Linked DNA regions of Homo sapiens: region 1 is linked to region 2. Evidence: promoter capture Hi-C in human tissues and cell types (Jung and others, 2019). All regions are on one chromosome and are shown on one strand. Each heading gives the region's core, a stretch centred on a gene start or on the middle of the fragment in contact. The rest is flanking DNA. Distances are from core to core; before and after follow the strand shown. Region 1 overlaps UBE2D2 (ubiquitin conjugating enzyme E2 D2). Region 2 holds the start of IGIP (IgA inducing protein).

Region 1 (5,197 bases), core at 2,537-5,036, 500 kb before region 2:
GAGCCACTGCAGCCAGCCTTCATTTTTATTTTTTAATGACCTAACCTAAAGTCTGTTTAAGCTTCTTAAAATCCTTGTTGGTAGGCTGGGTGCAGTGGCTCACGCCTGTAATCCCAGCACTTTGGGAGGCCAAGGTGGGCGGATCACGAGGTCAGGAGATCGAGACCATCCTGGCTAACACGGTGAAACCCCCGTCTCTACTAAAAATACAAAAAATTAGCCGGGCGTGGTGGCGGGTGCCTGTAGTCCCAGCTACTCAGGAGGCTGAAGCAGGAGAATGGTGTGAACCTGAGAGGCGGAGCTTGCAGTGAGCCTAGACCGCGCCGCGCCACTGCACTCCAGTCTGGGCGACAGAGCCAGACTCCGTCTCAAAAAATAAAAAATAAAAAAAACTATTTGCCAGGTGTGGTGGCTCACGCTTGTAATCCCAGCACTTTGGGAGGCCGAGGCGGGTGAATCACGAGGTCAGGAGTTCCAGACCAGCCTGACCAACATGGCGAAACCCCATCTCTACTAAAAATACAAAAATTAGGCCAGGCATGGTGGTTCAAGCCTGTAATCCCAGGACTTTGGGAGGCCGAGGTGGGTGGATCACCTGAGGTCAGGAGTTCGAGACCAGCCTGGCCAACATGGTGAAACCCCAATTCTGCTAAAAAAAAAAGAAATAATAATAATAATAATAATCCTTGTTGGTTACTGTTAATATAAAGTTAAGTAAAACTTACAAAGCTGCTAGGCATTACAGTATAAATTCTTAGAATTTTCTCATGTTTTGGCGTCTCATGTTTCTCTCAACCCTTTGCTTTGATCCTCTGCTAATTTATATGATTTTTTTCATTCTAGTACTCTTGTCCATCTGTTCTCTGTTGTGTGATCCCAATCCAGATGATCCTTTAGTGCCTGAGATTGCTCGGATCTACAAAACAGATAGAGAAAAGTAAGTATGGCCTCAAGATGGAAAGTTATCTGTGGTGGGATGGAGATGTTTGTCACAAATCTTTCTTGTTTAAGGGCTGAATATCGGCCAGATATTTAAAGTGAAGTCCTAATATACTCTCCTGGGGCTAGAAAAGAGAAATATATGCATTGAGTATTATTATAAGTAGATGATGCCAGTCTTATCCCTGATTGTTTCACGTGACTCCTCTTGTCTACAAAAACTTTTTTTTTTGTTTGTTTTTTTTTGAGACAGGGTCTTACTCTGTCACCCAGGCTAGAGTGCAATGGTGCAGTCTTGGCTCACTGCAACCTCCGCCTCCTGGGTTCAAGTGATTCTCATGCCTCAGCCTCCCGAGTAGATGGGATTACAGGCGCAGGCCACCACGCCAGGTTCGTTTTTTTTGTAGTTTTAGTAGAGACTTTTACCATGTTGGCCAGGCTGGTTTCGAACTCCTGACCTCAAATGATCTGCCTGCCTAGGCCTCCCAAAGTGCTGGGATTACAGGTGTGAGCCACCACACCCATACAAAAACTTTCCTATGGTATATTTTTCAACAGCTTAATGCCTTATGCTTGGCTTTTGATATATAAAGCACTTTTCATCAAGTGCCCATTTGCCTGCCATAGGTATTTGTCAATTAATGGGAAAAGAGAATTGATTTCCTACCATTTGACATAATCTAAAGGAAGAAAGCAAATAAATGCCATTAGACGTGAAAGCCCCAAATTTCTTTTAAAAACAAAACTTGATGTAGAATTTGGGTATTTTAGAATTGTACTATGAATTATTGAACAGTGGTCAAGATATCAAAAGAGATAGTAGCTAAAAGTGTTCTAGTAGCATTTTTTCTTTTCTTTTTTTCTTTTGAGATGGAGTCTTGCTGTGTTGCCTGGGTTGGTCTCAAACTCCCTACCTCAGCCTCTGGAGTAGCTAGGATTATAAGCATGCCCACCATGCCCAGCACTAATAACATCTGTTTTATGTAGTATTCAGTGAAGTTATAAGAGGAACTAGATAGGAGAGGGTGGATAGTTCTTTTAGGGCCGGGCGCAGTGGCTCACGCCTGTAACCCCAGCACTTTGGGAGGCTGAGGTGGGCAGATCACAAGGTCAGGAGTTTGAGACCAGCCTGGCCAACGGGGTGAAACCCCGTCTCTACTAAAAATACAAAAATTAGCCGGGCATGGTGGCGGGCACCTGTAATCGCAGCTACTCGAGAGGCTGAGATAATTGCTTAAACTCAGGACGTTTAGGTTGCGGTGAGCTGAAATTGCACCACTGCACTTCAGCCTGGGCGACAGAGCAAGACTCACGTCTCCAACTTGAGTTCTAGTGGATTAGAGAGGCATAGATACGTTTTTGTTTTTAGTGGAGGTAACACTGGGAATGGGATATTCTAACAGTAGTTGGTTCTTGCTTTTTCCTATTTGTGAATTTATTGTCAAATTTTTTTGATTAGAGAACTGTTTTGTCCGATATTTAGAATTGTGGGTCTGAATGCTTACCAGAAGTCATTTCCCAAGTCATCATGGAGTAATGTTGAACACTGTTGAACAGAACTTTCCCAAACTGCACTGCCCCCACCCTCTAACCCCCCACTTTTTTTTTTGCAGAGACAGGGTCTTGTTCTTCAGCCCAGACTGGAGTACAGTGGCACAATCGTGGCTCACTGCAGTGTCAAACTCATGGGCTCAAGTGATCCTCCCACCCCAGCCTCCCCAGTAGCTGGGACTGCTAGTACATGCCACTACACCTTTCCAGCCTCCCCAGTAGCTGGGACTGCTAGTACATGCCACTACACCTGGCTAATTTGTTTTTTTTTTTTTTTTTTTGTAGAGACAGGATCTCACTATGTTGCACAGGCTGGTCTCTAATTCCTGGCCTCAAGCAGGCCTTCTGCCTCAGCCCCCCAAAGTGCTGCTGTTACAGGCATGAGTTACCGTGCAAGGCCAGCATACCCACCCCCACCCCCCCCCCTTTTTTTTTTTTTTTTTTTTTGAGGCAGGGTCTTGCTCTGTTGCCCGGACTGGAATGCAGTGGCACAATCACAGCTCACTGTAACCTCAACCTCCCAGGCTCAAGTAGTCCTCCCATCTGAGCTTCCCAAGTAGCTGGGACCACAGGCAGATGCCATCACATCCAGCTAATTTTTTTTTTTTTGAGACAGAGTCTTGCTCCGTTGCCCAGGTGGAATGCAGTGGCACAATCTTGGCTCACTGCAGCCTCTGCCTCCCAGGCTCAAGTGATTCCTGTGCCTCAGCCTCCTGAGTAGCTGGGATTACAGGCGCACATCACCATGCCTGGCTAATTTTTGTGTTTTCAGTAGAGACGGGATTTTGCCATGTTGGCCAGGCTGGTCTGGAACTCCTGACCTCAAGTGATCCAGCTGCTCCAGCCTCCCAAAGTGCTGGGATTACAGGCGTGAGCCACCACACCCGGCCTAGCACCCGTTTTTTAATAGGAGAATTATAGAATCATTTGCTCTGCTTACTTTATTCAAATGTTCTTCTGAAGCAATAAACCCATTCATTTTGTCAACCAAATTGTTGAAATTAGTTCTACCAGAACCAATTGTTTTATTGATATGAAAGGAAAGTTTGGTTTTTTTTCCCCCTTTTTTTTTGAGACAGAGCCTCACTCTGTCACCCAGGCTATGGTACAGTATTGCAATCTCAGCTCACTGCAACCTCTGCCTCCTGAGCTCAAACGATCTTCCCACCTCAGCCTCCTGAGTAGCTGGGACTATAGTCATGCGCCACCACACCCTGCTAATTTTTGTATTTTTTTGTAGAGACAGGGTTTTATCATGTTGCCCAGGCTGGTGTGAAACGCCTGGGCTCAAGTGATCCACCCGACTCAGCCTCCCAAAGTGCTGGGATTACAGGTGTGAGCCAACATGCCCAGCCTTCTGTCGGTTTAATCATTATTAGTATATGAGTTCAAGAACTATGTAATGTAGAATCATATAATTTCAAGTACTTTAAATGAATGAATTGAGTGGACATCTTTTGTAGAAATAGGCCAATCAAGTATGGAATAAGGTATATGCCAACAAATACTAAAATTTAATCAGAACCCTCTATAAGTAGCAATTAAAGGAGACTTTCACATTTTACAGCTCCTTCCCATTATCATTGAATTAATCCTTATCAGAAATTTGGGATAGAAAGGGGCCTTTCCTTGAATGTCCTATAAGCTACTCTCTTCAAGTTACTTGATGGGATAATGAATGGAATCTGTTGCTTACTGACTCCACACCTATGTTAAGCCAAGCTTCTCTTTGTGTGTACAGGTACAACAGAATAGCTCGGGAATGGACTCAGAAGTATGCGATGTAATTAAAGAAATTATTGGATAACCTCTACAAATAAAGATAGGGGAACTCTGAAAGAGAAAGTCCTTTTGATTTCCATTTGACTGCTTTCTATGAGCCCACGCCTCATCTTCCCCTGTGCACATGTTTACCTGATACAGCAGTGCTGCGTGTTGTACATACTTGGAACAACAAACTAGAAATACTGTACTTCTGTACCAACATTGCCTCCTAGCAGAGAAGTGTGTGTGTGACAAGCCAGTTCTACAGGCATTACCTAGGTGTGAGACTAAAAGCTTTTCTTATTGACTTAAATTTGGATAACAGCAAGGTGTGAGGGGGGTGGTGGGTATGGTGTGTGCTTGGATGGGAAAGAAAAGGCTCCACTCACCTATAGGAGATTATTTTTAAGTGGAATCCATTTAAACTCAAAACAGTTATGAAAAGCAAGGTGAAGAACATGAAGCTGTGTCTGTATTCATTTTATTCCGAAGGAGCTACGTCTTAGGTGAAAGTTATGACCAACCAGATTAAACTCTACCCACATCCTGCATTTTAAGGTCTAAGTTTAACTGGTCAACATTTAAATGGATTGGAGCTATTAGTACATCAAGTGTGATGGGCTTTGTTCCCAACTCTTTTACATCTCCCTACCCCTTCAACCTTTGGCCTTTCAGCCCTTCTTTCTCTCTTCCATATTCTTTGGTTTGTATGTGGTTTCTCAGTTAATACATAGCTAATAGCTCTTATTTTTCTTATGTTTTTAACCGCTTAGGTCTATTTGGATGTAAGGGTGAAAATTCATTTGATGGAAATACTTGTGTATATTTAAAGACCCAATTGCTCCTCTGGAGCTTGTACTTTCAAGAATGATTAATCTGTGTAATAAACTGGTTACTACAGTCATTACATATAATTTTGTGTGAATAGGCTTTTTCATTTTTA
Region 2 (5,037 bases), core at 1,351-3,850:
TATAAAGTTGTCAATGTGTAAAAGTGCAAAAGCAGGAAAGACTAAAGTTGCCTGTAAAATTTCTAGTTTTCATTATTTGCACTATTTATCTTTGCACTTGATTTTTTGAAAGTTAAGGCTAGTCACTTTCACTTTTGTTTCTAGTCTTTTCTAATTTCTTGCAGAATTGTGTTTTCAATATTCCACCCAAAGCAAAAATTATATGCAATTAAAAATATTTTATAAGGCCAAGAAAATATTTCTTAATGTTAGCTGTATAAAACAAAAATTTGTTCTGATAAAATTTTTAATATGGGCCTTTATTTGCCAATAAAATCCTTTGTAAATGTGAGCTTTATTAAACTGTTTAAATAGACAAAGTTAAAGCTTAGGATAGGGAATATATATGTATGTGTATATGAAATGATGTCTTCGAGTTTTAACTTCCAGCCTGAGATGGCCTAGATTTGGTGTGTTAGTTTGTTTCACTGAAGTCAGTGAGATAGGAGTCTAGCTGGGTACATGCTTAAAAAGCTGGAAGTGAAGTGGGTGGCAAGTGGCAGCTCCCTCTTTCATGTAGTTTTCCATAATGTTCATATAGTTTCCTTATGGTCTAAGTGTTACAACTGGTTTTCAAGTTGTTATATTGAATATTCCTTTTTGGAATTCAGGGTTGAATCACTTTGAGGGGGAAGGGAAGCAAGGGCAAGAGACTTTATTTTAACCAGATGCGGTCTTATGACCTCAAAGATGTGCTCTAGAAAGAAAATAACAAAAAGTGTACCTGTGAACATATTTTTTGTCTTGGTGATATTATGCAACACAGTGTTCAGAATTGCAAAAAAATTTAAAAATTGATAGTTTTATCAATGGAACAGAGAGATGTGTTTTTGGCTAAAATTATTTTTTGTAAGTTATTTGGTTATTTCATTTTATATTCCCTTTCCCATAGCTTTGTACACACCTCATACTTAAAACCAAGTGAGAGGCCTCTTTTCAGATCTGGTTTATTTTTGGAATGCCTGAGTGTGTTTCCAGATTGGGGGGGGAGAGGTGGTGTTTTACTTTTTGACATGCTCTTAGCATGTTTTGCTAGTCATTCTGGATCTTATGTTTGCAAATTCTGTTGAACATTCAGTGATGTATTTGAAATGAGAAAGTCCTTTATAACATAGTGTGAATGTTTGTGGCCAATTCAATTGTGGAATCTTATGGCTTTGTTTTTACTTTGGGTAGAAGTTTAACTTCCATTGTTCAGATTTTAGGTTTATCTAGTGAAATTGTGCCAGGTAGTTGTCTAAATATGGACCAATTTTGGGAAATGAAGATTAATAAGTGTATATTTGATTCTAGATAATCCTTTACTCAAAATCATAAGTTAAAGATTCACATCATTAAGAGTTATCTAACTTTTATGTTGTCAAATCTTTAAATGTGGATGATATTCAGCATTCTATCTATGAATTTCCTTTAGGAAAAGAGAAAAATTCAGTCTCCAAACCTTTTCTTGGAGACAAAATTTACCACATATCGAAAATGAAAAAAATTTAGAAAGCGATTTGATTATTTTTTAATGGAGTTTAACCAGCTTAATTAATGATTTTTCCAGTTTGAAGCACTTATTTTCCCAATGTGAATAAAGGGAAAAGATCAGCAATTTGTCCCTGGCCTTTTTCGAGGCCATTTTTAGTTTTCTGCCCCCATTTCCCAGTCCTGGTATAAAATGAATTACGGGTATCCCTCTAAGTCCCTATAACCCTTTTTGGGGGTCACAGATATCTTTGATAATCTGATGACAGTGTGATGGATCCTCTACCCAAGAAAAAAAAAATGCCCATCCCTGGATAATTTTGCATACAACTTCAGGGGCATCACACATCTTCTGAAACCCAAGTTAAAGATCTCTGCTCTAAGTAAATTGTAGAGAATTTTAGTGCAAATCGTTGATAAAATTAGGAACCAACTATTGGCTTAAAACCTTTCATATTGGAATTATTGTTAGATGGTGGCCCCTACTAGCAAAATGTGACATTGCAACCAGCTTCGTTAGACATTATAACAACCAGAGAGAAGGGAAAAAAGCAAAGTTCTGAAAGCTATTTATAAGGAGTCAGGGCATCTCTAGACATGGGAGCCTTCCTGGTTCAAGGCAGGGGTCAGGGTGCCTGACAATTTCTAGCAGGGTAGAGTTTGATAAACCACAATGCTCAGGATGCCAAGGGGTTAGCCATTATCTTAACCCCTTCCTCACCAAAAGATTTTAGTTTTGTCTGTTGGGAAACAAGATGTCACTAGGGAAAAAAAGATTTGCCTTACAACTTTGCTGGAACACATCAGTTTGGTGACGTTGGGACACTAGTGTTATTTTTGAGAAGGCGCATAAAACCAAAGTAAATTATTCTCTATGTAGAACATTTATTTACTAGTAACATTTGTTTGCGTGTATTCGCTTTGACAATTTTTACCAGTAAATATTGGTTTTATTTAAAACTGGGAATCCAGTTGATATATAGGATAGTTGATACATCTGTTCTTTCCCCCATGTAAAGCATAGTTAAAAGATTTATGCATACTTTTTACTTTTCTCTCTTAATGCCATGGGGTGGGGAGGGTGGGTGGGGGAAAGATTTTTGAGTCTACAACTGACAAAATGTCTTCTTCAAATTAAAAAAAATTGAGAAGCAGCACTTTAAGTCTAACTCTACACCATTTTATTGCATGTATTAGTTTTATTAATGATTTTTGGTGCATGCCTTTGGGCTTATTCAAAAGTGTACAATAGGAAAGTATATTTCCTTTCTTAGAAAGGAGATGTTTTCTACTTTGCAACATGTGATTACAAAAATCTTCCTCTGTGGGAAGATTAACCATGTATTGAACTACTGAAAAGTATATATTTTTAGATATACAGAAGGAATCTACATGGAGCAGCATTCAGACCTATATAGAAGTCATAGCATTCTGTATAGGACCAAAAAGGAAATAACATTAAACACTTAAACAGACGTTGTTGGGTAGAAATACCTTTAGATCTTGCATTTACTTCCAAAAAGAAAAAATGCCACAGAAGTTTGCTGAAAACTTTTGTCGTTTGAATTTTCTCTGTCAGTGTATTTAGCCCAAATACAACAGCTTTGGGTTAGCACACACATAAGAATCAAAAAAACAAAGCTCACTAAATAAATCAGTCTGGTTTGCCAATCCAGCTTGACTGAAATAAGTAAACCAATCACTTGCAACATGAAAAACTGTCCAACTCCTCTAAGGTTCTGACAAAATAACCTTGGCTGATGTGGGAAGACTCCCACTTTGATTACTGACCTGACAGTGAAGATTCATGCTTGACATGATTTCAGACTTGACAATGTCTGTTTAAGGAGCTATGGTACAGTTTGCTAATTCAATCCCAGATACCTGTTGATTACCTGTGAGATCTAGAGTCCAAAGTAGCCAGCAGCCATATCCCTGAGTGCTCTGTGCCCATCAGATATCTTAAAGTAAGCAGGGTTGGGACAGGTCACAGCTTGGATGATTGACCTCAGGTGCCGTAGACAGCCCCAGATTCAAGAATTGTATCTGCTTTCTTGGCAGTCGTCACTGAACTAATGTCCCATACTGTGTTACTTACTGTAGATGCTCTCTTTTAGAGGAGGCCCAGAGCACACATCCTAATCGCTAGCGGTACTCAGAGAGGGGGTGCTAACTCTGATGCCCTGGCCAAATTCCAGTTTAGGGATGTGGGTCTTCTTCTTGTCATTCTAATTGGAAATGTGCATCACTTCCCATTTTTCTTACTGATCTCAGTGCAAACTACACTAGTCTGTTTCTTTGCCCTGGTCTCAAGTCTCTAAGACGCTGGTGTGTATTATGTGGGCTAAGTTCATGTGTTATCCTAAGGCACAAGAGTTGAGGAATGGGTGAGCTTGGTGTCAGAGCACTGTGTGGTTGGAGGGTGGACTCTTGTGATGCTGTGGGGATGAAATTGGCCCTCTTTTAGCATAAGTTGGGGAGTGTGCACTGGCTGGAGGCTTCCAGAGGCTTCCAGCCATGAGGTGTGAGCTGAAACCAATTTTTCCTCTTTCCTTATAGCATGTTGAGAAAATCTGTTGGGTTTTCAGCAGTCAGGGAAGGCCGGAGTTCTGCTTTAATCTGGGTAACTGAGGCTAATATGAGCAAGACTTTGGTTAATTAACTGGGTTCTCAGATGCCACAGACTCCGTGAGAAGTCACCATTATTTTCAATGGTTGTGATAGAATTTCCCCCAGTAGCCATTATTTTAAGATTATATTGCAGAGTTGCTTTATTTTGAGCTTTTTGTGTATACACAATCCCAAACTGGAAGAAATTTTAAAAAAAGGAATCCTGCTGTGAAAGGTATATATTACTCTAGATTTTTCTTACTGTAAATATTGTAAGATTGTAATACTGTCGATATTTTATTAACCAACAAATGTTAATCTATGTGAAATCAGACTTATTTTAAATGTGCTTCTTATTTACTGTGTGTGGTCCCTGTTGCTGACAGTATTAAGTTATATTCTGATGTAAGATTAACTTTATTAAAGAATGTAAACATTAATGTTTCCTTATGGGAAAACAAATAAAGTATAAAGAAGACAATTCTTTTCATTGAAATATACTGTGTATTTACACTTGCTAGACCCAGCACCACTTATAAATTTAGTACACTGTTCAGAATTTTAGTTAACACAGCTGACATGGTTGTGCTCTGTTTGAAAGTCTAAGAATAGGTATTGTTGGAATATACAGTTTGTATTTGTCTGCTGTGAATCATAATCTTGAAATTTCTAATCAAGTTTGTAAAATTTTTATAGTGAAACATTTTAATGACAATTTAAAAATTTATCTTCTCTAAAGAATGGTCAAAACAATATCCTTTCAGAAATAGAATTGTTCTTTAATATCTTTCCAAAATGACTTTGGTTAAATGGACCAGATGTATATTAGTTAAAATTTAGGACTAAGTTGTTGATATTCTTTGAGTTTACAAGTTAATCCTTATTGGAGATGTGCCAATATACAGTTAGAATATCATT

The links. Contacts are between HindIII fragments. The study calls those that stand out against the background at their distance.
Region 1: a contact is called between a fragment that was not itself captured here and the fragment with the promoter of IGIP in region 2, in 1 of the 25 tissues and cell types used here (hippocampus).

Annotation. Positions count from the first base shown.
Region 1 is chr5:139,622,525-139,627,721 of GRCh38, forward strand. It overlaps UBE2D2 (ubiquitin conjugating enzyme E2 D2), which reads left to right. Exons shown (of 7, transcript NM_003339.3): 6 at 844-937; 7 at 4,232-5,197. The coding sequence ends at 4,277. Among named protein-coding and RNA genes, the nearest start is that of CXXC5, 23 kb to the right of the region's middle. The HindIII fragment of the contact is 3,301 bases long and covers 2,137-5,197 here.
Region 2 is chr5:140,123,337-140,128,373 of GRCh38, forward strand. It overlaps IGIP (IgA inducing protein), which reads left to right and starts at 2,601. Exons shown (of 1, transcript NM_001007189.2): 1 at 2,601-5,037. PURA (purine rich element binding protein A) reads left to right here. Exons shown (of 1, transcript NM_005859.5): 1 at 1-2,283. The HindIII fragment of the contact is 10,247 bases long and covers 1-5,037 here.